Regions from separate parts of the Homo sapiens genome. Here all the other regions are linked to region 3. Evidence: promoter capture Hi-C in human tissues and cell types (Jung and others, 2019). All regions are on one chromosome and are shown on one strand. The core of a region is centred on a gene start or on the middle of the fragment in contact, and the rest is flanking DNA. Distances in the headings are between cores, read along the strand shown.

Evidence for each region. Contacts are between HindIII fragments. The study calls those that stand out against the background at their distance.
Region 1: a contact is called between a fragment that was not itself captured here and the fragment with the promoter of HS3ST1 in region 3, in 3 of the 25 tissues and cell types used here (heart right ventricle, hippocampus and lymphoblastoid cells).
Region 2: a contact is called between a fragment that was not itself captured here and the fragment with the promoter of HS3ST1 in region 3, in 4 of the 25 tissues and cell types used here (H1 embryonic stem cells, adrenal gland, mesendoderm cells and 1 more).
Region 4: a fragment that was not itself captured here is called in contact with the fragment with the promoter of HS3ST1 in region 3 in 1 of the 25 tissues and cell types used here (mesendoderm cells).
Region 5: a contact is called between a fragment that was not itself captured here and the fragment with the promoter of HS3ST1 in region 3, in 4 of the 25 tissues and cell types used here (H1 embryonic stem cells, IMR-90 fibroblasts, lymphoblastoid cells and 1 more).
Region 6: a fragment that was not itself captured here is called in contact with the fragment with the promoter of HS3ST1 in region 3 in 5 of the 25 tissues and cell types used here (IMR-90 fibroblasts, bladder, mesendoderm cells and 2 more).
Region 7: a fragment that was not itself captured here is called in contact with the fragment with the promoter of HS3ST1 in region 3 in 2 of the 25 tissues and cell types used here (mesendoderm cells and thymus).

Annotation. Positions count from the first base shown.
Region 1 is chr4:10,770,867-10,774,166 of GRCh38, forward strand. The region is part of intron 3 of LINC02498 (long intergenic non-protein coding RNA 2498); the gene reads left to right. Among named protein-coding and RNA genes, the nearest start is that of LINC02498, 35 kb to the left of the region's middle. The HindIII fragment of the contact is 5,223 bases long and covers 1-3,300 here.
Region 2 is chr4:10,845,579-10,848,446 of GRCh38, forward strand. No RefSeq gene overlaps it. Among named protein-coding and RNA genes, the nearest start is that of LINC02498, 110 kb to the left of the region's middle. The HindIII fragment of the contact is 3,496 bases long and covers 1-2,868 here.
Region 3 is chr4:11,426,998-11,430,309 of GRCh38, forward strand. HS3ST1 (heparan sulfate-glucosamine 3-sulfotransferase 1) reads right to left here and starts at 1,897. Exons shown (of 2, transcript NM_005114.4): 1 at 1,702-1,897. RefSeq lists an enhancer at 1,553-1,772 and a silencer at 1,863-2,042. The HindIII fragment of the contact is 7,575 bases long and covers 1-3,312 here.
Region 4 is chr4:11,962,385-11,965,665 of GRCh38, forward strand. No RefSeq gene overlaps it. Among named protein-coding and RNA genes, the nearest start is that of MIR12113, 180 kb to the left of the region's middle. The HindIII fragment of the contact is 3,517 bases long and covers 257-3,281 here.
Region 5 is chr4:10,532,660-10,535,743 of GRCh38, forward strand. The region is part of intron 11 of CLNK (cytokine dependent hematopoietic cell linker); the gene reads right to left. Among named protein-coding and RNA genes, the nearest start is that of ZNF518B, 77 kb to the left of the region's middle. The HindIII fragment of the contact is 4,000 bases long and covers 1-3,084 here.
Region 6 is chr4:10,819,545-10,822,662 of GRCh38, forward strand. No RefSeq gene overlaps it. Among named protein-coding and RNA genes, the nearest start is that of LINC02498, 84 kb to the left of the region's middle. The HindIII fragment of the contact is 5,436 bases long and covers 1-3,118 here.
Region 7 is chr4:10,799,209-10,802,384 of GRCh38, forward strand. The region is part of intron 3 of LINC02498 (long intergenic non-protein coding RNA 2498); the gene reads left to right. Among named protein-coding and RNA genes, the nearest start is that of LINC02498, 63 kb to the left of the region's middle. The HindIII fragment of the contact is 5,781 bases long and covers 1-3,176 here.

The DNA of each region.
Region 1 (3,300 bases), core at 510-3,009, 660 kb before region 3:
CCCAGATCATCCCTTAAGAAAGAAGCTAAGTGGTGTTTATGACCCTTCCAGTCCTTCTCCCTCCACATATTCAAGGAATATTTCCTGCGTGTCAATGAAACACAGTATTAGGGCTAGTGCTTTGAAGAGGTTGCAGTTCCTGTCCTCATTGAGCTTATAGTCTCAAAATTAATTAATTACAATTTTGATGAATGTTATAAATGAGAATCATAAAGTTCTGTGAATATTTCAATCTGTCAAAATGTAAACGTTCTGCATCTCAACTGGATTCCCTGTTTTAGCTCTTACCCAAAACATGGATGATGGTGACATTTCTTTGTGGATAGAGCAAAAGATCCAGAAAAGGGGTCCAAGAGGAAGACTAGAAGGGAGGAAAAGAACTGTAAGGTGGCCTTCAAAAATGTATGAACATATCCTAATCTCTAGAACCTGTGAACGTGACCTTATTGGGAAAAAGGAGCTTTTCAGATAAAATTAAAAATCTCAACATTCTCAAGGTAAGGTCATCTGGATTATTCAGGTGAGCACTAAAGCCAATGGCAAATGCTTTTTATAAGAGATAAAAGAGGAGAGATGGACAGACAAACAGGAGAAGATGATGTGAAGACAGAGGCAGTGATTGAAGTGATGTAACCATAGTTAAGGAACGCCAGGTCTGGTGGCTCATGCCTGTAATCCCAGCACTTTGGGAGGCCAAGGCAGACGGATCATCGGAGGTCAGGAGTTCGAGACCAGCCTGGCCAATGTGGTGGAACCCCATCGCTACTAAAAATACAAAATTAGCTAGGCATGGTGGTGGGTGCCTGTAATCCCAGCTACTCAGGAGACTGAGGCAGGAGAATTGCTTGAACCCGGGAGGCAGAGGTTGCAGTGAGCCAAGATTCCACCATTGCACTCCACCCTGGGCGACAAGAGCAAAACTTTGTCTTCAGAAAAAAAAAAAAAAGAAACCAAACCAAACCAAAACAAAAATACCCCAACAAACACCAATAGTACCAGAAGCTGGAAGAAGCAAGAAACAGAGTCTTCTTTAGAGCCTTTGGAGACCCTTAAGTGAGGCCCTGCAACACCTTAATCTTAGACTTCTGACCTCTGGAGCTGTGACAGAATACATTTTTTGTTGTTGTTGGAATTCATCCAGTTTGTGGTAATTTTTAAGGCAGCCCTAGATATCAAATATAAGAATGAAGAGACAGGGCAAAGGACAGGCACCAAGGTGAGGCAGGGAAGCACACAGGACAGAATGTTTAATGAGGCACTCACTCTTGGGTTCATACAGGCACAAGGTCAGCCCTGCATGAACCCAAGAGTCGGCCCCAGGCACCTAGCTTGCCTCACTCCAGCTGTAACCTGGAAGAGCAGGTTTTAGAACAGAAAAACTGAAGCCAGCAAGACCAACAGAGAAAAGATATTTCAAGAAAAGAGAGATCAGTGGTGTCAAATATTAGAAAGACCAACAGACCACCACTAAGAAGTGAAGACAATGTGCACAAAAGGACCCGGACATAGTGCATGTTTAGTAGACATCTCTTTGAATTTTTATCTTTTTCTCCTTGACTTCCTTTGATGCCCATGCCTACTGCCTGATTATCAGAGAAGAAGGAAAACCAGCAATAATCAAGTGTCCAACTCTTAAACATGCTGTACTTCACTTCAATTCTGAAAGTAACTTCTGAGCTAGGAGACATAATTCTCTTTTCCTAGGTTAAAAACAGAGGTTCAGGGATAACCAGTGACTTTTCAGTGTCTTAAAATGAGGACTAAAACCCAGAGTTTTGTGACTCCAGCCCAGCCACACCACAATGGCTGAGTTTGTTGGTCAGCCCTTGACTCGTCCATAAGCTTTGAATTCCTGCTTTCTTCTAAGTACCTACTAATGTGCTCTTCATTATCTTGGGATCTGAGAAAGATTTATGCCTTCAGTTGGATCATGGTCTAGTAAAGAGGGAAAAGCTAGAATAAACAATTGATTATAAAGAAAGGAAGAATTAGGTGAGTAATAAGTGGAACAACAGGCAATAATGAGGGAACACTCAATACCCACAACCTTGAATCTTGGTAAATAAGAACACACAACACAAAATCAATATGGGAGATGCCCTCACTTCTACATGAATTCATTCAGTCTGAGGCTACTTCTACCTCTGTTGGACCAAGACACTTTCTTATAGCTCTTTTTCTGTTGATCTTCAGAGTTTAAAATACCTCCAGAGCAAGCTGGGAAATAACTTTCCATTTTTCCAATGTTTGCTTTTCAGTGTTTTGAATGAATCTTCTCTGCAAACTGCTAAGCTAATTGAACCACTACCATTTCAGCTGAAAAAACATCCTGTCTTGCCAAAGCACATTTGCTTGTGTACTCAGTGTTACCAACGAAGGGGCCAGAGCTGGGGGAAATAGTCGTTTATAGCCTGAAGACCAGGTGCAGAATGAAAAGTGTTTTGTTTTGATCTGCTCTGTTTTGGGAAGGATGGGTGCTGACATTTAAAGGGCTCATTTCACGTTCTTAATAGACATTGTTTTTTGGGGTTCAGAAATGCAAAGAATGAGTAGCTCAAAGAGGTCAATGGCTTGCCCAAGAATATAGACAGAGGGTGGTTCAGAGTCCCCATGCCGTTGTCCTGTCCCAGCAATGACACACTGACTCAGGTCATAGGCCAGCCCTTGAAACACTAGAGAAACGTAATCTCCTCCCTGATATTGGATTTGATTCAATTAAAGGGCTGGGATTTAAACTCACTTCTATATTGCTCCTGTGCCCTTATTTGATTATGTCTTGTGTTTCAAGTATGTTCTTCAGCCTCTCATGAGGGTGGGGCTGTTACCAAAAAATGCTTTTAAAAATATTTTCAAAAGGAGCATTAAAACTCTCCATGAATCAGATTTATTTGAACAAAGTATCATCTACTCTTAAAAAAATCTAACTCATTCTCTTGACAGATTTATAAGACTGGGTTATTTCATCATAGAACCAGAAACTGTATGTGTGATGACGTACAAGAAATGTGCCAATGAATAGTCAGATTTCTCCTCTCCAAGTTCAAAATGTAACTTAGGGACATAGGGAGGAAAAGCATCCACTGATGTTGCAAGGTGACTAGGGATAAATTGACGTGAAAGTCACCTTCAGAGAGAAGAGACACTGACACTTGGGAAACTTCATTAAAATTCTTAAAAAGGGAGAAATTGGATGCTGAACTGGAACTCACTTTGAATGAAGTACTTTTTAGTTTTCTTAATTAAAATTGTGTTCAGCTCAGGGCTGAACTTCTTAACAATTGAAACTTACCTAGGTTTGGG
Region 2 (2,868 bases), core at 39-2,538, 580 kb before region 3:
CCATCCTAAAAGCAACCAGTGGTTTCTCTTCTGTCTACAATAAATGGACCAAACGCTTCTCTCCAGGATGAGTTGTTTTACTGAGATTGATTTCTCTATTGTTCAGACCTTAATTTTTAATTATAACTTTTAATTTTGAAATAGTTTGTCTCACTAGTAGTTACAAAAATGGGACAGAGTTCCTGTGTACTTTTCACCAAGCTTCTCCCAAATGCCAATATTCTAAAATACATGATACATTGTTGATACTGTCTGAATGTTGGTGCCCTCTCCCTTCCAAAACATGTGTGTATATATATATGTGTGTGTGTATACATACACACACACATATATATACACACACATATATACACACACACATATATATACACACACACATATATATACACACACTTATGCACACACACTAATACTGTTACAGTATTAAGAGGCAGGGCCTTTAGGGAAGTGATTAACTCATGAAGGATCCACCTTCATGAATGACATTAGTGGCCTTAGAAAAGAGGTTTAAGGGAGTTGCCTGGCCTCTTCCACCACGCACAGGCACAGGAGACATCATTTATGAGAAACAGGCCCTCACCAGACACTGAATCTGCTGGCACCTTGATCTTGGACTTCCCAGCCTCCAGAACTGTGAGCAATAAATTTCTATTGTTTATATTACCCATTGTAAGGTATTTGTTATAGCAGCCCAAGTTGACTAACACAATTACCCAAACCAGGAAATTGACACTGGTACAGTAATATTAACTACAAGACAAATCTTATTGAGATTCCAAAAGGATGAAATCATGTCCTGAATTTTCAGTAACATGGATGCAACTGGAAGCCATTTTCCTGTGTGAATTAATGCAGGAACAGAAAACCCAAATACCACATGTTCTCACTTATAAGTGGTAGCCCAACGTTGAGTACTCATGAAGTTAAAGACTAGAATGATAGACACTGTGCTCTACTTGAAAGTGGAGGGTGGGAGGAGGATGGGGGTTAAAAAAATATATCTATTGGGTACTATACTTACTACCTGGGTAATGAAATGATTTGTACACCAAACCCCAGTGACACAGGATTTATTCAGGTAACAAACCTGCACATGTACCCCGTGAACCTAAAAGTTGAAAAAGGAAAAGAGTATCATCTTTTTCTTTACAAAATACTTCTTTTATTAATCTCAGGATTTTCAAAACATTTATTCCAAACCTAGGGATTGTGTATTTTTTAATACAAAAAATAGGATAAAAGTCTATTTAATAAAATGGAACACGGATCCTCCTGAAACAGGAGGATCACTTGAGTCCAGGAGCTTGAGGCTGCAGTGAGCTATGACGGTGGAACTTCACCTCACCCTGGGCAAGAGAGCAACACAGGCTGTCTCTATAAACAACAATAAAATAAAATAAATCAGAAATTTTAGTACACGAATATTTCATTTTACTTAAGGTTTGGGTTTCTGCACTAAAACTAAACTAAATAGTAAAATATTTATGTAAATGATCTAACATATGGGACTTAAAATGAACTATAGCAGTTAAAATGTATTATAATTTTCAACATTCATGTCTTATGAAATGCTTCTAGGCATTGGATCCTGGTTAGCTGGAAGTTATATGCATCTGTAGAAAAGCTTGCACTTGTACTTTCTAATCATAGCTTAAGTTTGTAATAGTTGACGCTTTTTTCGATTGCTGACATTTAAAAATGTAATTGTATTTTATTTTTATATATGCTAGTCATATTGTTAATAACACATTTGAATGTTTGATTGGCTTTGTGAAGTTTGAGCGTGTCTAGCATTAAGTTAATGCCTCTGAGAAACTGAGGTCTTAAACTAGATTTTCTCCAAGTAAAACGAATATAGAAATAATATATTTTTTCAAGCCAAACCTCAAGAGCTTGTATTTCTTTCATTTCTCTTTACTAATCATATGGAATCTAAGGTACTAGGGATTTTTTTGATTCCTCAGTGGAATTTTTAATATTTTGGCTGGTACTCTCTTAAGGTACTACTTAGGATATTCTCATTGTACCAATACATATATAACCTGATATATTAAAGTGGCAAGAGAATGGTAGATGTGAAATAAGTGTGTTCCTACATTATCAGAAATTAAATCATAGGAGACAGAATTGGTTTATTCAACCAGGAAGCAAATATAGGTATCTTGTACTTAACATTGAGTACTAAGTCATTGTAGGTAGTATCAGATAATGATGAAACGAAACTATTGTGCAGAGTTTTGAAGACAGAGCTGGTCTGGTGGAGGTGTTTCTTTTCTTTTTTTTTTTTTTAACCATCCTAAGGTAGAGAAGATCCCTCTTTCATAGTATTCTGACTATCTAAGTAACCTCTGCTATCTTTGAATTTACCAGTGACAACTGTTGAAATGCCAACAGCGTCAGATTGAAAATCAGCATAAAGTCCTGAAGCAACACTATAGATCAGATAAGTACTTGCAGCCATGGAGAGTGAACAATTATAATTGATTCTAGAAAAGTGATTCTCAAAGTGTGGTCCCTGGACTAGTGGCAGCAGCATCAGGGAATTTATTTATTTATTTATTTATATTTCCAACTTTAAAGTTCAGGGGTACATGTGCAGGATGTTCAGGTTTGTTACATAGTTAAATGTGTGCCATGGTGGTTTGCTGCACAGATCATCCCATCACCCAGGTATTAAGCCCAGCATCCATTAGCTATTCTTCCTGATGCTCTCCCTCCTTCCCCCCCACACCCTCCAACAGGCCCCATTGTGTGTTGTTCCCCACTATGTGTTCATGTGTCCTCATCATTCAGCTCCCACTTATAAGTGAGAATATGCGGTATTTGGTTTTCTGTTCTTGAATTAGTTTACTGAGGATAATGGCTTCC
Region 3 (3,312 bases), core at 647-3,146:
TATTACCAGGAATGCAGAAAGCAAGAAAAAAATCCGAACGTCAAAGGATGCGCTTTGCTTTAGAAATGCAGGGAGGCAGAAGTTGGGTTATTTCTCCCTCCTTTTTTTTTCTTTTTTTTTTAAAGATGGAATTCCTGGAATTAACCCTTGGGTGGAAGCATTTCAACAAAATAAAATGAGATTTGCCTGCAAAGCGAGAACGCACGGGTGGGAATGAAGGATCCTGCCTGTGCCAGGCTGCTGCCTCAGCAGTGTCCAAGCACCCAGCGCCTGAAAGCGGGAGCGTGGGGACTCGTCTGGGGACCCTCTTCCGGGGCTACTGGCGGGAGGCGCAGCCGAGCTGGTGGTGGCGGGGTTTCCCTCCGGGGCTAGGGCTGAGGGAGGAGAAGAGGGCGGACTGGCTCCTTCCGTTCTCGGCCACCCTCCCCGCCACTCCTTGAGGCTGCTCCATGCTAACAGGAGACTGTTTCTCGGAGCGCAGCGCAAAGACAGTGGATTTGGAGTGGCCTCCCTAGAATCCCCCCAAAAGCATCTTGGCACAAGTTGTAGATAAAAATAGCTCATGATAACATTGTGGGAAAGGGAGGAGCGAGACTCGCGCAAGGCGAGGCAAGGGTACCACTGGATCTGCAAAGGAGGAGGAAGAGGGAGGATGCAACCCTTGGCCCAAGAGAGCGCCCTGAGTGTGCGAGGAATCGCTGGCTCCCAGGGGAGGGAAAGAGATGGAAGACCTATAGCGCCTATAACTGCAGAGTTATAGACCTATAACTGCAGAGCCCAGCACACCCCATCCCGCGCCGGCACCCGGCTTTGGCTCCAGCTTCTTCTTCCCATCATCCGCCTACGTTCTGGGTCTGTCCTCCGCTTCCTGGGACAGGCTGGGGCTAGAAGGAGGAGCAGCGCGCCGTCCGCCCCCTGGCTGGTAGAGCGCACCTGGAGAGGTCAAGCTCCGCGAATAAGACCCTTCCTGGGAGCTGGGGTCTAGGCGTTCCAACCGCGGGTTCGCACCCCGCCATCCCTCACCTCCATCCGCTGCCACTACCCAAGGGCCCGGAAATAGAAAACCACGAAGGGGGAAAAAAATCAGTAAAAAGTAACAAGAAAAAAATCAAGACCCTCATGTAATTGGCATTAGGGATGAGAGGTTTATTGTCAGGGCTGTCACCTCAATCTCTCTCTTTGGGAGATGCCTATCTCCAACCAAATGCAAAGGCAAACCCGACCAAGGCTTCTCCACCCCCAAAGGCTCCCTCAGCCGAGTTACTTTTGCGGGCTGTGTCCTCGCCCCAGTTTCTGGCCCCAGGTGGTACCCAGGATCCGTTGAGTGCTGCGCTCTCGCTGCCCTACAGGGTCCTATGGTGAAGCTGCGGTCGCGAAGCGGCCGGCAGGAGCGAACCTCACGACTCTGCAGGGGGGGAAAACATCCAACCCAGTAAGAGTCAGAAATCTGGGTCCCTGTCCTTACAGATCAACCGGTCCCTCGGGACTTCCAGAGCAGAGGTGCTAGGGCAGGAGGTGAGGAGGATGGGAAAATCCCCAGCCTTTGCTTCCTGGTTCCCTCTGCATCCACTCCACCTGCTCCAGCCTCGATTCTTCTTAGGTTCTGCACTTGCCCGAAGTCCAGAACGCCAGACAAAGGCACCTCGGAGCCCTCTACACCTGCGTCCTGCCACTCTCCCACCCCGCGCGCGCCGCACTCACCTGAGCCGCGCCTCTGTCCAGCCCGTCCGGCGCCCTAAATAGGCTCCTAGGCTGGGCCATGGGCAGCACTGCCGAGCACCCGCGGCGGGTAGAGCAAGTTTCTGGATGGCCCGGGGCAGGCGGGCGGGGAGAAGGCGCAGGCACCCACTGAGACCCGGCTGTCGTGGCGGCGACTCCTGGCTGCCAGGGCGCAGAGGACCTTGCAGGCGGGCGTTTTGGTGCTCAATCCCGAGGAGGGGGAGGAGCGGGAGGAGGAGCGGGAGCAAAAGGAGGGGACGGAGGAGGCCGGGCCCGGAGGGAGAGCGCGTTGGGCAGAGGAGGATCGCGAGCGCCCACTGCTGCCCGGCCCGCTCGGGTGCCGCCCAGAGTCCGGCCCGCTAGGTGCCTGGTGCTCCGCTCTGCGCTCAGCTGCTCCGCACAGCCCCGCCTGGCACGCAGCTCCAGCGGCTGGTCGGGTAGTAGTCGGTCCCGCCCACCCGGTGCGGTGGCCCCTGGGGTTTCAGTCCAAGGGGAGGGACCAGCGCTCCAAGAAGGTGAGGCTGCTGGGATGGGTGACTCCGCCGTCACTGCAAACACGGGACGTCCCGTCTACTCCCTTACGCCTGCTTGGTCTGAGCCCGAGTCTACCTCTTCTCTAAGTCGCCAGCTCGGCACTTGTACCCGGGACCTGTGCTCCTCCCACGTGAGTCTGCACCATGCGTATTCCCTTCCTGGCAGGTGACCCACCTTAGGCGCTGGCGCTCCTTCCGCCCCCCGGGAAGCAGGAGGTGCCATCCTCTCCAATTCGCTCTGCAGCCGGACTGGGACCGGAGCGGCGGCCTGGGCCAGAATCCGCGTGAGGAGCCGGCTTCAAAGAGCGCCCTGTCGCCATTGAACACTCCTTTTCCTTTGGTTTAGCGTCGGAGAGCGGACGCCAATTTGCCAGGAGAGCGCGGAAAATTCAGCTTTTTTTTTTTTTTTTTTTTTTTTTTTTTTCCGCTAGTGCACTAGGATTGCAAACGTCAGCTCTGAAATAAAAAGCAGGATATTTCTGCCCCGCTCCTCTATTCCGGAAGCTGGGAGGTTCTGTGGGAGAAAGGACCTGCACCCAATAACTCAATTTAAGATTTAAGGTTTTGAGGGGCGTGGGGTTGGAATCGCCTTGGAGAAACGGGTTTGCCTGCTTACCTGAGCCAAAGGAAGTTGCCCTCAAAGGCAGGTCAGCAATCATACCCCGCCAAAAGCAAATGCACATCAAAGTAACTTCCTTTAAATGAGATTACTGTAGTTTCCATGTCTTCCACATTAGTAAATAAATATTTGGAAGACTTCGAATTTGTGATTTACGTTTAAATATATTTCACCAACATTGTTTAATTAAAAAAAAATCCCATCTAAGAGAAGGTTCCTATAGGAAATTGGCCCTTTAACTCATACACAGATTACCCTCGGCACTTTCAGAAAACAACACAGTGACCAGTATATTCTGTCTTTTTGATACAGCCAGAAGCACCCTGAAAGCTGAGACCTAACTGTGCTTTTGGAAAATAAGCTTTTAGGAGTTGAATGACCTTGTCTACTTCTTTTAGTCAGAATAATGTTGGCATGTCTATTTTAGGTTAAAAAAAAATA
Region 4 (3,281 bases), core at 765-3,264, 540 kb after region 3:
TTCTTTCCTGCTTTATCTTGTGGGCATTTAGTGCTATAAATTTCCCTCTACACACTGCTTTAAATGTGCTCTAGATATTCTGATATATTGTTTCTTTGTTCTCCCTGGTTTCAAAGAGCATCTTTATTTCTGTCTTAAATTCATTATTTACCCAGTAGTCATTCCAGAGCAGGTTGTTCAGTTACCATGTAGTTGTGCAGTTTTGAATGAGTTTCTTAAACCTGAGTTCTAATTTGATTGTACTGTGGTCTGAGAGACTGTTTGTTATGATTTTCATCCTTTTGCATTTGCTGAGGAGTGTTTTACTTCCAATTATGTGGCAATTTTAGAATAAGTGTGCTGAGGTGCTGAGAAGAATGTATATTCTGTTTATTTGGGGTGGAGGGTTCTGTAGATGTCTATTAGGTCCACTTGGTCCAGAGCTGAGTTCAAGTCCTGGATATCCTTTTTAATTTTCTGTCTCATTGATCTATCTAATACTGACAGTGGGGTGTTGATGTCTCCCACTATTATTGTATGGGAGTCTAAGTCTCTTTGTAGGACTCTAAGAACTTGCTTAATGAATCTGGGTGCTCCTGTATTGGGTGCATATATACTTAGGGCAGTTAGCTCTTCTTGTTGCATTGTGTAATGCCCTTCTTTGTCTCTTTTGATCTTTGTTGGTTTAAAGTCTGTTTTACCAGAGACTAGAATTGCAACCCCTGATTTTTTTTGCTTTCCATTTGCTTGGTAAATATTCCTCCATCCCTTTGTTTTGAGACTATGTGTGTCTTTGCATGTGAGATGGTTCTCCCGAATACAGCACACCGATGGGTCTTGACTCTTTGAAGAACAACTCAATGAAATAAAGTGTGAAGATAAGATTAGAGAAAAAAGAGTGAAAAGAAACAAACAAAGCCTCCAAGAAATATGGGACTATGTGAAAAGACCAAATCTATCCAATTTGCCAGTCTGTGTCTTTTAATTGAGACATTTAGCACATTTACATTTAAGGTTAATATTGTAAAGTGTGAATTTGATCCTGTTATTTTGATGCTAGCTGGTTATTTTGCCCATTAGTTGATGCAGTTTCTTCATAGTGTTGATGGTCTTTACAATTTTGTATGTTTTTGTAGTGGCTGGTCCCAGTTATTCTTTTCCATGTTTAGTGCTTCCTTCAGGCATTCTTGTAAGGCAGGCCTGGTGGTGACAGAATCCCTCAGCATTTGCTTGTCTGTAAAGGATTTTGTTTCTCCTTCACTTGTGAAGCTTAGTTTGGCTGGATATGAAATCCTGGGTTGAACATTCTTTTCTTTAAGAAAGTTGAATATTAGCCCCCACTCTCTTCTGGCTTGTAGGGTTTCTGCCGAGAGAACCACTGTTAGTCTGATGGGCTTCCCTTTTTGGGTAACCTGACCTTTCTCTCTGGCTGCCCTTAACATTTTTTCCTACATTTCACCCTTGGTGAATGTGACAATTATCAGTCTTGGTGTTGCTCTTCTCGAGGAGTATCTTTGTAGTGTTCTCTGTATTTCCTGAATTTGAATGCTGGCCTACCTTGCTAGGTTGGGGAAGTTCTCCTGGATAATATCCTGAAGAGTGTTTTCCACCTTGGTTCCATTCTCCCTGTCACTTTCAGGTACACCAATCAAATGTAGATTTGGTCTTTTCACATAGTCCCATATTTGTTGGAGGCTTTGTTTGTTTCTTTTCACTCTTTTCTCTCTAATCTTATCTTCTCACTTTATTTCATTGAGTTGTTCTTCAATATCTGATACCATTTCTTCCACTTGATTGATTCGGCTATTGATACTTGTGTATACTTCACAAAGTTCTTATGCTGTGTTTTTCGGCTCCATCAGGTCATTTATGTTCTCCTGTAAACTGGTTATTCTAGTTAGCAATTCGTCTAATCTTTTTTCAAGGTTGATAACTCGAACTCATAGTTGAAGGTATTTTTCTTGGGTTTGGGGTTGGCATGGCCCACAATCAGCTACAGAGACAATGGGATCCAGGGCTCAGGTGTTCAGAGAAGCTGTGGTGCCAGTTTCCTGGTCTCAGGGTCTTGTGAAACTCCTATAACACCTGGAACATGAGGCACAGGTTCACTAACTAAGCCCAGGGTGGATGCTGTTTTTCCAGTAAGCCAAGATTTATTCCTCTGAGGCATATCCCAGTAGCTTGGGCCTAGGGAGTTATAACGTAGCTGTGGTTCTGTCCCTGGCAGGAAGGCCACAACACTGGCATTGGCTTTGAAGAAGAAGAGGTGTTTTAGAGGCTGGGGCCTCAGAGAGCAATGCACAGCTGCAATTGGAGAACAAGAACAAACAATACCACTTGGGATCCAGGGAATGAGCTACCACAAAGTTGTAAATGTGGACCCTGGAATGGTAGGACACAGTAGTATCCTTTGCTCTGCGAGCCAAGATGAAACAACTGGAAGGACCCAGAAATGTCAAGATATGGCTTGGGCCCAAGGGAAGGGGAGAAAAACAGTGATGACTCTGCTTCCCAGAAAGGCAAGGCATGTATATGGCTTGACCTCAGGGGGCTAGTCCAGTTCTGTGTAGGCATGGCACTGTGGCTGTATGCCTGGAGAGTGGAGTGGCACAGCTTAGCCTAGGCTCCAATTCTCTGAGATGTAAGGCACCTCTGCTTGGTCCAAGAAAGTGTGGCTACATAGGTAAATGAAGCCTGTAGATCCCTGGGAGCTGGGGCACATTGTCAGCAGTGGTACCAGGAAGCATGACTGCTCTAGTGTGCCAGAAACCTGGGTCACTGGGAAGCACAGTGTCACTTCAGCTTGGCCCTAAAGGCAGGGTTCACCAGAGACCAGAGAAAAAGATGGAGTAGCTCTGTAGTATCTTGGCCCTAGGGGATTAGGCATAGCAGCAGCTTGGTTCAGAGATGGCATGATACCAGGTGGGCATCTTGCATTGGTGGAAGGTCTCATAAATAGAAAGTGCAATTACCACTCGCTTCTGGAGCAGGACACACTCTAGCAGTGACTCTAGTCCAAAGATGGTGCAGTGCGGTAGTAGTACAGGCCATGGGGAGGGTGTGGGGTGCAGTGTTGACTTCTCTAGGAGTAGCTTTGTCTGTGGGCTCTGGAGAGCTCCCTTTGCTGGGCTTGGAGCCCGTGGGGACTACAGCAGTCTCCAGTGATGAAGACTGCAAGTGTCCACAGTGGCTATGGGGGCTGCTGGTATCTTCTTGCTTACCCCTTAAGGAAAAGGAGGGAGTTCCTCCTAGTTTTGGCTGATCCAGAATTGGGGAATGGAGTGGCAGAGGCAAGATGTGCT
Region 5 (3,084 bases), core at 270-2,769, 890 kb before region 3:
AACATAAAGAGTTTTCAATATGAAGCTGTCAGGTGCAGTGGGGTCTCAGGAAAGCAAGTGTAAGAGAGAATGCTGATAAAGAACGAAGATCTGAGACAGGAGAAAAACATAAAATTGAATGGTAGAGAAAAAATCCAACATGGAATTGAATAATATGAATTTTGGAAAGGTCTCTGACTAAACTTCAAGCTTTTCATTTTATCAGCAAGTCAATTAACTTCTCTAAACCTCACTTTTTTTCATCTGCAAAATGGCAACAAGAGTGCTCATGAGTGTTAATGTGAGAATTGCTAGAAATAAAAAGTAACAAAGTTGGGGCCTGGTGCAGTGGCTCATGCCTGTGATCCCAGCACTTTGGGAGGCTGAGGCAGGCTGATCACTTGAGCTCAGGAGTTCCAGACCAGCCTGGCCAACATGGTGAAACCCTGTCTCTACTAAAAATACAAAGATTAGCCGGGTGTGATGACACATGCCTGTAGTCCCAGCTACTCGGGAGGCTGAGGCAGGAGAGTAGCTTGAGCCCAGGAGGTGGAGAGATTGCTGTGAGCTGAGATCATCCACTGCACTCCAGCCTGGGTGACAGAGCGTGACTCCATTTCAAAACAAACAAACAAACAAACAAAAAACAATGTTGGGCATTCAGTGTGCATCGTTGTCAGAATGTGGTCAAAGTTTGGTGAAGAAACTATGAAGGGAGTGGAGTGAGGGTATATGTTCCACTTCCCCAGTTCTGTCAGTGAAAACACTGGATCTGAAGAATATGGGAGTATTAAGTGTGCAACACTGATCACAGTTGAAGGCTATTGATCTAGAGTTTTAGGAGTCAGGCTATATCAGGATTCCAGAAACACACAGTACTCAGATGCTAGATCCCAGTGTCGGATCTGCAAGCAACAGGCAACTGTACCAAGGTTCCACGGTTTTAGCCTCTTACATCTTACCCCCTGCCTCCCGCTTTTAGTTGGAAACCTGAGAAGACAAAAGAGATCTGAATAGAGGTAATGAAGTAGAACAAACACCCAGAGTATTAATTATTTTGGGGTTAAAATGTGGCTAATCTCAGTATTTAATGTTTAAGAAGCCAGTGTATTAAAGATACTGAAAGATTGGCTGTAGGGCTTCAATTTAAAATGTAGATTTGAAGTTACAAGTGTCAAGATGTGTTTGTCTCCATTTTAAAGAGTTTGAAGTGTTTAAGATAAATTAAAATTTTCTATATTTATACATTTACTTTCTTGGATTTACAGAAATTGTTAAAGTTTTGCTGGCTAGCATTTAAACCTACCCTGTCAACATTAGAAGTACTTAAAAATCAAAGAAATTAAATTTATAAATATATTTCAAATATTTAAGGAGATTTAAATGAGTTTGTTAAACAGTTTTACTAAGATTCTTTAACCTATTTGACTTGAGTTGGTTGAACATTTGTTGAAGACTAAGCAGAGTGATTGTCTTTCTGTTTGGATAAAATCACCTGATTTATAAATAGAGCAGTGCACTTTATAGATGGAAATCTGAGGCTTCAGGAAAGCTCGGGTTTGGAATTTGCAGCTTTAATCAATGGAATTTTCACTGAGAACCCAAGTGATTGTAAGAAGGCATTTCTGTGTAGACCAGAGTTTCTTACTCTTTGAGAGCTTTGAACACATGTGTGTCCAAGTTCTGTCTGCTGAAGATGGCGAAAAAAACCATGGTCATTAATTTTTTTCACATTTTTTCCTATGCATAAGAGGTCCTCATTATAAATGTAAAGATATTACCTTTTACTATAAATATAGGTCTCTCCAGGAATGCCTTAGTTTTTGGCTTAGTTTTAAATGAATTGAATTTGATTCTTGCTCTGTCATCTGTGGGCTCTGTCACCCTGGATAAGTTAAATTCTCTCTCTGAAGCTTAGTTTTCCCACCTGTAAAACTGATAAATCTAGACAGTAGTGAAGAGAATTGCTGAAGATTCTAATGAAAGAATGTGACGTGAAAGCTATTTGGAGTGAAATAACACTCTACATTTGCAGAACATTTTAATGTTCACATTTGCTTTGAAATTAAACTTTTTATCCTGAGATAAAATTATGGATTTTTTATCCTTAGATAGAATTATGGATTCCCATGCAGTTGTAAGAAATAATACAGACAGTTCCTATGTGCCCTATACCCAGTTTCCCCCAATAGCAACAACTTGGAAAACAATAATAATGATGTTTATACTTTAAAATCAATACTTTCCATTCATAAATACAAATGTGTATATCTCTATAACCATACTTTCTCTTTTAAAAGACCACGGTTTCTCGATATCTATAAAGACTTTTTGTTTTCACTTCCCAAATCATCAGAGCATACATTTTTGCGACAGAGATTGTTTGAATTGATGTGATGCCAGCATTGCTGGTTGTAAAGAGAAAACTGGCTGGCCGTGTTGCTTCACACCTGTAAATCCAGCACTTTGAGAGGATAAGGCGGGCGGACTGCCTGAGGCCAGGAGTTTGAGACCAGCCTGGACAGGAGTGTTAGAGAGACCCCTGTCTCTACTTAAAAAAAAGAAAGAAAGAAAGAGAAAGAAAGAAAGAAAGAAAGAAAGAAAGAAAGAAAGAAAGAAAGAAAGAAAAAATGGAAAGCCATAGTTAGGCAAGTGGGTGTTTTGTTTCTTAAATATTGGGTGCTTCATTTAAATTATATTTTGGCTGAACCCTGCACCTTTGGCCATTGAGTGTACTGAAGCTTAAAGGACATATGGGACAATGAACCCTCGATTTCTTAATTTTTATCAGTAAATTGGAGATAGTAATTTTTTTACAGTGCTGTTGTGTGACTAAATGAATTAATACATATAAGATCCCAAACCGGGCCTGGTGTGTAGTTACGACTCAGAAAATGTTGTTGATTACTCTTGCTGTTACTCAGGATGATTTTATTTGGTGCATGGACCACGGTATTAAAATTACAATGGATTCGTAGTAGAAAAGTTATTCCCTTTTTAATTGTCTTTCAGATTATGTCAAAGAGAAAGGCTCAGTGCAGTGGTTAGTAGATATGAAACACTGTTCTAATATTTGCTTACCTTCCCTTTTATCAGAGGTAAAAT
Region 6 (3,118 bases), core at 152-2,651, 610 kb before region 3:
CACCTGTAATCTCAGCTACTCAGGAGACTGAAGCAGGAGAATTGCTTGAATCCAGGAGGTGGAGGTTGCAGTGAGCAAAAATGGCGCCACTGCATTCCAGCCTGGGTGACAGAAGGAGAATCCGTCTCAAAAAAATAAAAAAAAAGGAAATAAATAAATAAATACACAACAGAAGTGTATTACTCATAGTTTTGGAGGCTATAAAGCCTGTGATCAAGGTGCTAGCAGATTCAGTGTCTGGTGAGGGCTTGTTTCTCATAGACAGTAACTTCTAGTTGTGTCCTCACATGGTGGGAAAAGCAAGGCCGCTCTCAGCGGCCTCTTTTATAACGGCATTAACCCTGAACAAGAGGGCTCCACCCTCAAGACCTAATCACCTTCATACCATCATTTTAGGGGCTAGGATTTTAACACATGAGTATTGAAAGGACACAAATATTCAGACGACAGTAGCATGCAAGTAAATTTTCTATACTGAATCTCAGGGTTAGATATACTGTACTTCTCTTCCAAAATCTCCACATTGGGGAAGCCTTCCCTGCTTGATCTCTCAACTACAGGCCCAGAAAATACCATGTACTCCAAAGCAGAAAGTCTGCTGAATTTGAACTCTCTACTATCAAGAGATATGGAGAAGAAAGAAGCGAAGTTACACAGAGTTGCTCAGTTTTATTTTCCAAAATTCCCAACCATCTTAATCATTTGTCTCATAGAAACAAATAATTGAGAGGCAGAGAGAGGTGTGTTATGCAAATGGAGCTTTCCCTACATAAAAAGAAACATCATAAATGGGGAAAAATGTTCACCCCCAATACACATTTGAGAGTGTACTCATTTCTCCACAAACTTGCCAATAGTGGGCAGGGTTCAACTTAAATTACTTTTTCCTATTTTGTGATGTAAAAAATTATATATCTATATTACATTATGTATCTTTACATATAATTACATATGTTTATGTTATATATCTTATATTTATTTTATATATTTATTATTACTTATATTGCTATTACTGTTATATCTTTATTATTTTTATTTTAATATTATTACAGAGATGAATTAGTATCTTTGTGTGCTAATTTCTCATTTTTTCCTTTTGTATAAAATGTTTGGTCATATCATTTACCCACTTTCCTTTAGCGTTTTCTTGTGTCTCTCTTTCTTATTGATTTGTAGAAGTTCTTTATATAGTTTGTAAACTAATGCTTTCTCTATTATGTAGCTTGAAGACTTTTTTTTCAGTTAAGTATTTGCCTGTCACTTTAAAAAATCATACCTTAGTTTTAACATTTTTGTCTCAAATTATCAAAATTTCTATTTATGGATCCTGCTTTTAGTGTTTTAAAGAGGAAGATCTTCTATTCCAAGATTTAAAATTTTTTAAAAATTTTTATGACATTATAATAGCATTTTCTTTTTCTTTTCTTTTTCTTTTCTTTTCTTTTTTTGAGATGGAGTTTCGCTCTTGTTGCTCAGGCTGGTGTGCAATGGTGCAATCTCAGCTCACTGCAACCTCTGCCTCCAGGGTTCAAGTGGTTCTCCTGCTTCGGCCTTCTGAATAGCTGGGATTACAGGTGCACGTCACCATGCCCGGCTAATTTTTGTATTTTTAGTAGAGACGGGGTTTCAACATGTTGGTCATGCTGGTCTCGAACTCCTGACCCCAGGTGATCAGCCTGCCTCGGCCTATAATAGCATTTTCTATACTTATGTACTTGCATCTGTAATTATATTTTTATGATGTAGAGGCAACTTTATTATCATTATTCTCTGATATTTATATCACTGTCACAAAACATTTATTGGATAATTTACAACTTCTTCTGCTGATTTAGACATACAGCTCTTGCTTTGTAATGAGTTCTAGATTCTCTATTCTGTTCTATTTCTCTTTTTGCCTAATTCTGAACCAATAACACATTAACACATTGTTAAGGTAATACAGGCCATCAGTTTTATTTTTTCTTTTGGTCATAATATTGTTGCAGATACTGGCTTCAATTTTCTGTAGATAATCCCATATTATGGCTGCATCTGTTTGCTTCGTGGTGGTTTCATTTAATGTATTCTTATATACCCCTGTATTTTCCGTGCATGGAAGTTGCCATTTTAAGCTTGGTTAGACTCAATTTTAATATTTTGCACAGTAACACTTCATACTATGGCTTATTTTGCATCATGCCAGGAAATACACAATGTGTTGTTGTCCCACTGTAGTCGGCACTAAAATGATCGGTGGGTTTGGGTAGAATGCTCAATTTTACCATTATATTGTCTTTTCAATAATAAGGTAACTTTTCACAAATTTTTTATGCATAGATAGTCATTACCTGAGCTAAGGATTTCAGCTGGCAATTAAAAGAAGAACTTTCTGATTTCTTCCTAATTCATGAGCTGAATTATTGTGTAAATAAGAAATTATTTTTATCTTCTAGGCATATTCGGTTTCTGTGCTCTACAGTGTGTACAGGAAATGCAAGATAGACATTATTTTCCTTCAACTGTTGATTTTCGGGGAAATAAGTTGGTAGCCCAAATGTCCAGTTACTTCCAACGGTCTCTATAAGGATCTGTCTCTTTCTCTCTATTTCTGTCTTTCTGTCTCAGTCTCCCTACCCCTTCTTTTCCTCTCTCTTATTATGAAATCTATTGGTTTTTCAATATTAAATGTGTTTCAACTGATTGCATTTATTATTCTTTTTGATGTTCAAATGGCCCTATATTTGGCCAGTGGCAGCTGCTTCATTGCCTGTTCTAGTGCTGTTTGACAAGACCTGTAACTGCCTTGATAGTACTCTTGCCTTCTGACACACTAGAGTATCTCACTCTTAATTTCTTGCCTTGATATGCATTTAACTTTACCACTCTTCTCCATGCTCATGCTTTGGGCATTTAAACAATTTAAATCTATTTGATTGGAGTGTGATTTACATAATTAGAATGCACCCAGTTAATTGAGTTTTGACAAATATGTTTACTCATCAAACAACCACTACAATCAAGGTATAGAGCATTTCTATCACCCCCCACAATTCTCCACCTCTTTCCATTCAATGCCCTCAAGAACTCCTGGTCCCAAGCAACCACTGGTGTGTTTTCTATCACTAAAGACTGGATT
Region 7 (3,176 bases), core at 15-2,514, 630 kb before region 3:
TTCCCTGGCTCTGACTGTGACCAATTATTATTTTAGAGAAACAGTGTAACAACGACCTGAACATCACCTAATAGTCACCTGACATTCCTGGTTGGGGGTGTGGGAACTTTTCTGCCCTGCTCATGACTGACTAGCTACCTACTTAACAATATCTCCGTTTCCAAAATGGAAGTTGTATTTGCAAGGAGGTTTTAAATCATTTTAGGCATGTATTCTTCAGCTATTTCCGTAACAAACTCAATTATTGTAAACTCAGTGGTTTCCTTCATTAAGCAATTATTCTCACTCTCACTGCCTGCAGGGAAACTGTGGTTCATCCAGACTAGACTAGGCTTGGATGGGTAGCTCCCTGGCCATGGATTAGCTGGATTTGGCCATGGGCTCTCAGTCTGCTCAATGCTGAGGGACAGTGATAATACCGCTATCATGAGATATGCCTATATTAGTCCATTCTCACACTGCTAATAAAGACATACCCGAGACTGGGTAATTTAAAAAGGAAAGTGGTTTAATTGACCACAGTTCAGCATGGCTGAGGAGGTCTCAGGAAATTTACAATCATGGTAGAAGGCGAAGGGGAAGCAAGGTACCGACTTCACAAGGCAGCAGGAAGGAGAAGTGCAAGCCGGGGAAATGCCAGATGCTTATAAAACCATCAGATCTTGTGAGACTCACTCATTATCACAAGAACAGCATGGGGGAAACCTCTCCCATTATTCAATTACCTCCACCTGGTCCCACCCTTGACACGTGGGGATTATGTGTATTACAATTCAAGGTGAGATTTGGGTGGGGACACAGAGCTACTATATCAATGCCCAATCTCCAACATACAAGAGAAAAGCCAGACTACACAAGGCTATGAAAAGTTCCGGCTCACATCATGCCTGCCAAATTCCCAGTGGCCAAAGCAAGTCACACGTCCAAGACCAACATCAAAGGGCAAAGACTTAGTCTCTGCCTATAGTAAGGAGGAAACAGGAGTAAAATGCTGAAGAATAATCTAGAATAGCAGAAGCTATTTAAAAAATATTTTCAGATATTAAAAAGTTCAGTCCAATTTTAATCGAAACTCCAATGTGTCATACAATTTTAAGTTTTTCTTCTTCCTTACCTTAGGCCTGAACTGGCTCTGAAGCCAGAAGAGAGAAAGGGAGAGTGCAGCCTGTTCTTTCTGTTGGGCTTACTCATTTCAGTAGTCCATTGAGCTGCTCACAAACATTCCAGTTCTCCTTCCTAGACAGAGAAGATAAGATGACTTTGACAGCTACTTAAAGTTAATTATAGCCATGTGACTTACTTTAGCCAATAAAGTGTGTAACTTCTAGGTGGGAGCTATAATAATAAGTTTATGCTTTGCTACATTCTCATTTTCTATTCCAGTATTCAAAATTGTAGTGCCTGATCAGCCTGGGTTTTTGTGGTGTAATTAGCAGAGCTCCTGGGATAGACATAAGTGAGAAAGAAGTCTTTGTTCTCGGTTATTGTACTGAGAACTAAGCTAAGGAGGTGTGTGTGTGTGTGTGTGTGTGTGTGTGTGTGTGTGTGTGAGAGAGAGAGAGAGAGAGACAGAGAGAGAGAGAAAGAGAGAGAGATATCCGCACATCATCACCTCTTCTCTTATCCTTATTGATTTTTCTTTCACTCTCTCTGTGTTGGGTCATCTTTTTCCGGCTTCTCTACCATGTGTGAGGGTAAACAAGGAAAAACATGGTACAGTTTTAGGTAGCCAGCACAGTTGTAGTTCCTACCCTCCACACACACCTGTTAAATACCCTTAGTACTGACCCTTCCCTTCTGTGTGTTTTAGGGGTTTGTTACCTCACAATGTCTGGGATTCCTCATTCTTCAGTATTTCCTGAGAAGGACTATGCTTAATCCTACTGATGTCTTATGACTTTGCCTCAATTCCTACTTCTGGTGGGATGCCTCTAGCCACTTTCTGCTGGTATCTGCTTTCTCCTGCAGATAGGCCTCTTGAAAATAGATCTTTTTTTGACCACCCTAGTCTGGGTGCTGCTCTCAGCACCCTGAGGCACACAGAAAGCCTTCCCCTTGCCATGCTGGTGAGGCAGTTCCCAGTGCAGCTCTCTTTTCTCTGCTGCTGCTGGGCCAGTTCCAGCCAGCCTGTCCCCTACAGGCAAGTAGCCAGTACCATTCCCTTCAAGTCTTCAAGGCACAAGTCAATTTATCAGAAATCTCTCTCAGTGTGCCCTGTCGAGCCACATGTAAGAACTGGGACATAGACTTCCTTCACATTCTTCCTCCCATCCTCACAGGGAGAGGAGAAAAATGCCTTTCCCCATCCTTCTAGACTGACTACTTTCTTGAAAAACTTACCAGTCAATCTGCTTAATGAATGTATTAGTCCATTTTCATGCTGCTATAAAGAATTGACTGAGACTAGGTAATTTATAAAGGAAAAAGGTTAAATTGACTGACAATTCAGCATGACTGGGAAGGCCTCAGGAAACTCACAATCATGGTGGAAGGCAAAGGGCATCTTCTTCACAAAGTGGCAGGAAGGAGAAGTACTGAGCGAAGGTGGAAGAACCCCTTATAAAACCATCAGATCTCTTGAGAATTCACTCACTATCATGAGAACAGCATGAGGGAAACTGCCCCCATAATTCAATGACTTCCACCTGATGTCTCCCTGGGATTATGGAGAGTACAATTCAAGATGAGATTTGGGTGGGGACATAAAACCTAACTATATCAATGAATCTCCAGTTTTGCTGGTAGACATAGAGGTTGGTGGAGAGTTTTGGGCTAAAGGTCTCAGGACTTGCTTTGCCTATCTCTTAGCAAGTCTAGCAGAAATGGACTTAGTCCTTTTCTGTAAAATACAGGTGCAATTTATCCCCATTGTCCCAAACCTGGGACATTTTGGGATCTCAGTGGAGACTAAGAAGACAAATATATTCTAATTTTTTTACAAGTTTAAGAGATTACCACATATTCTAGGAGAAGTGAGTAGTTTGGTGCGACCAGAATAAATGTTTTTCTGTGCTAAGGATGGGCAGACTGGCTGGGATCAGATGATAAAAGCCCACATAGTTCTATTTTCCATGATGACTAGAATCATGCCTTTTATTCCATCTTGCTCTTAACTTATGGGTCCCAATCCAACTCTGGCTCTACCCCTCTTCCTCCTACACCATTTGTTTTACCAT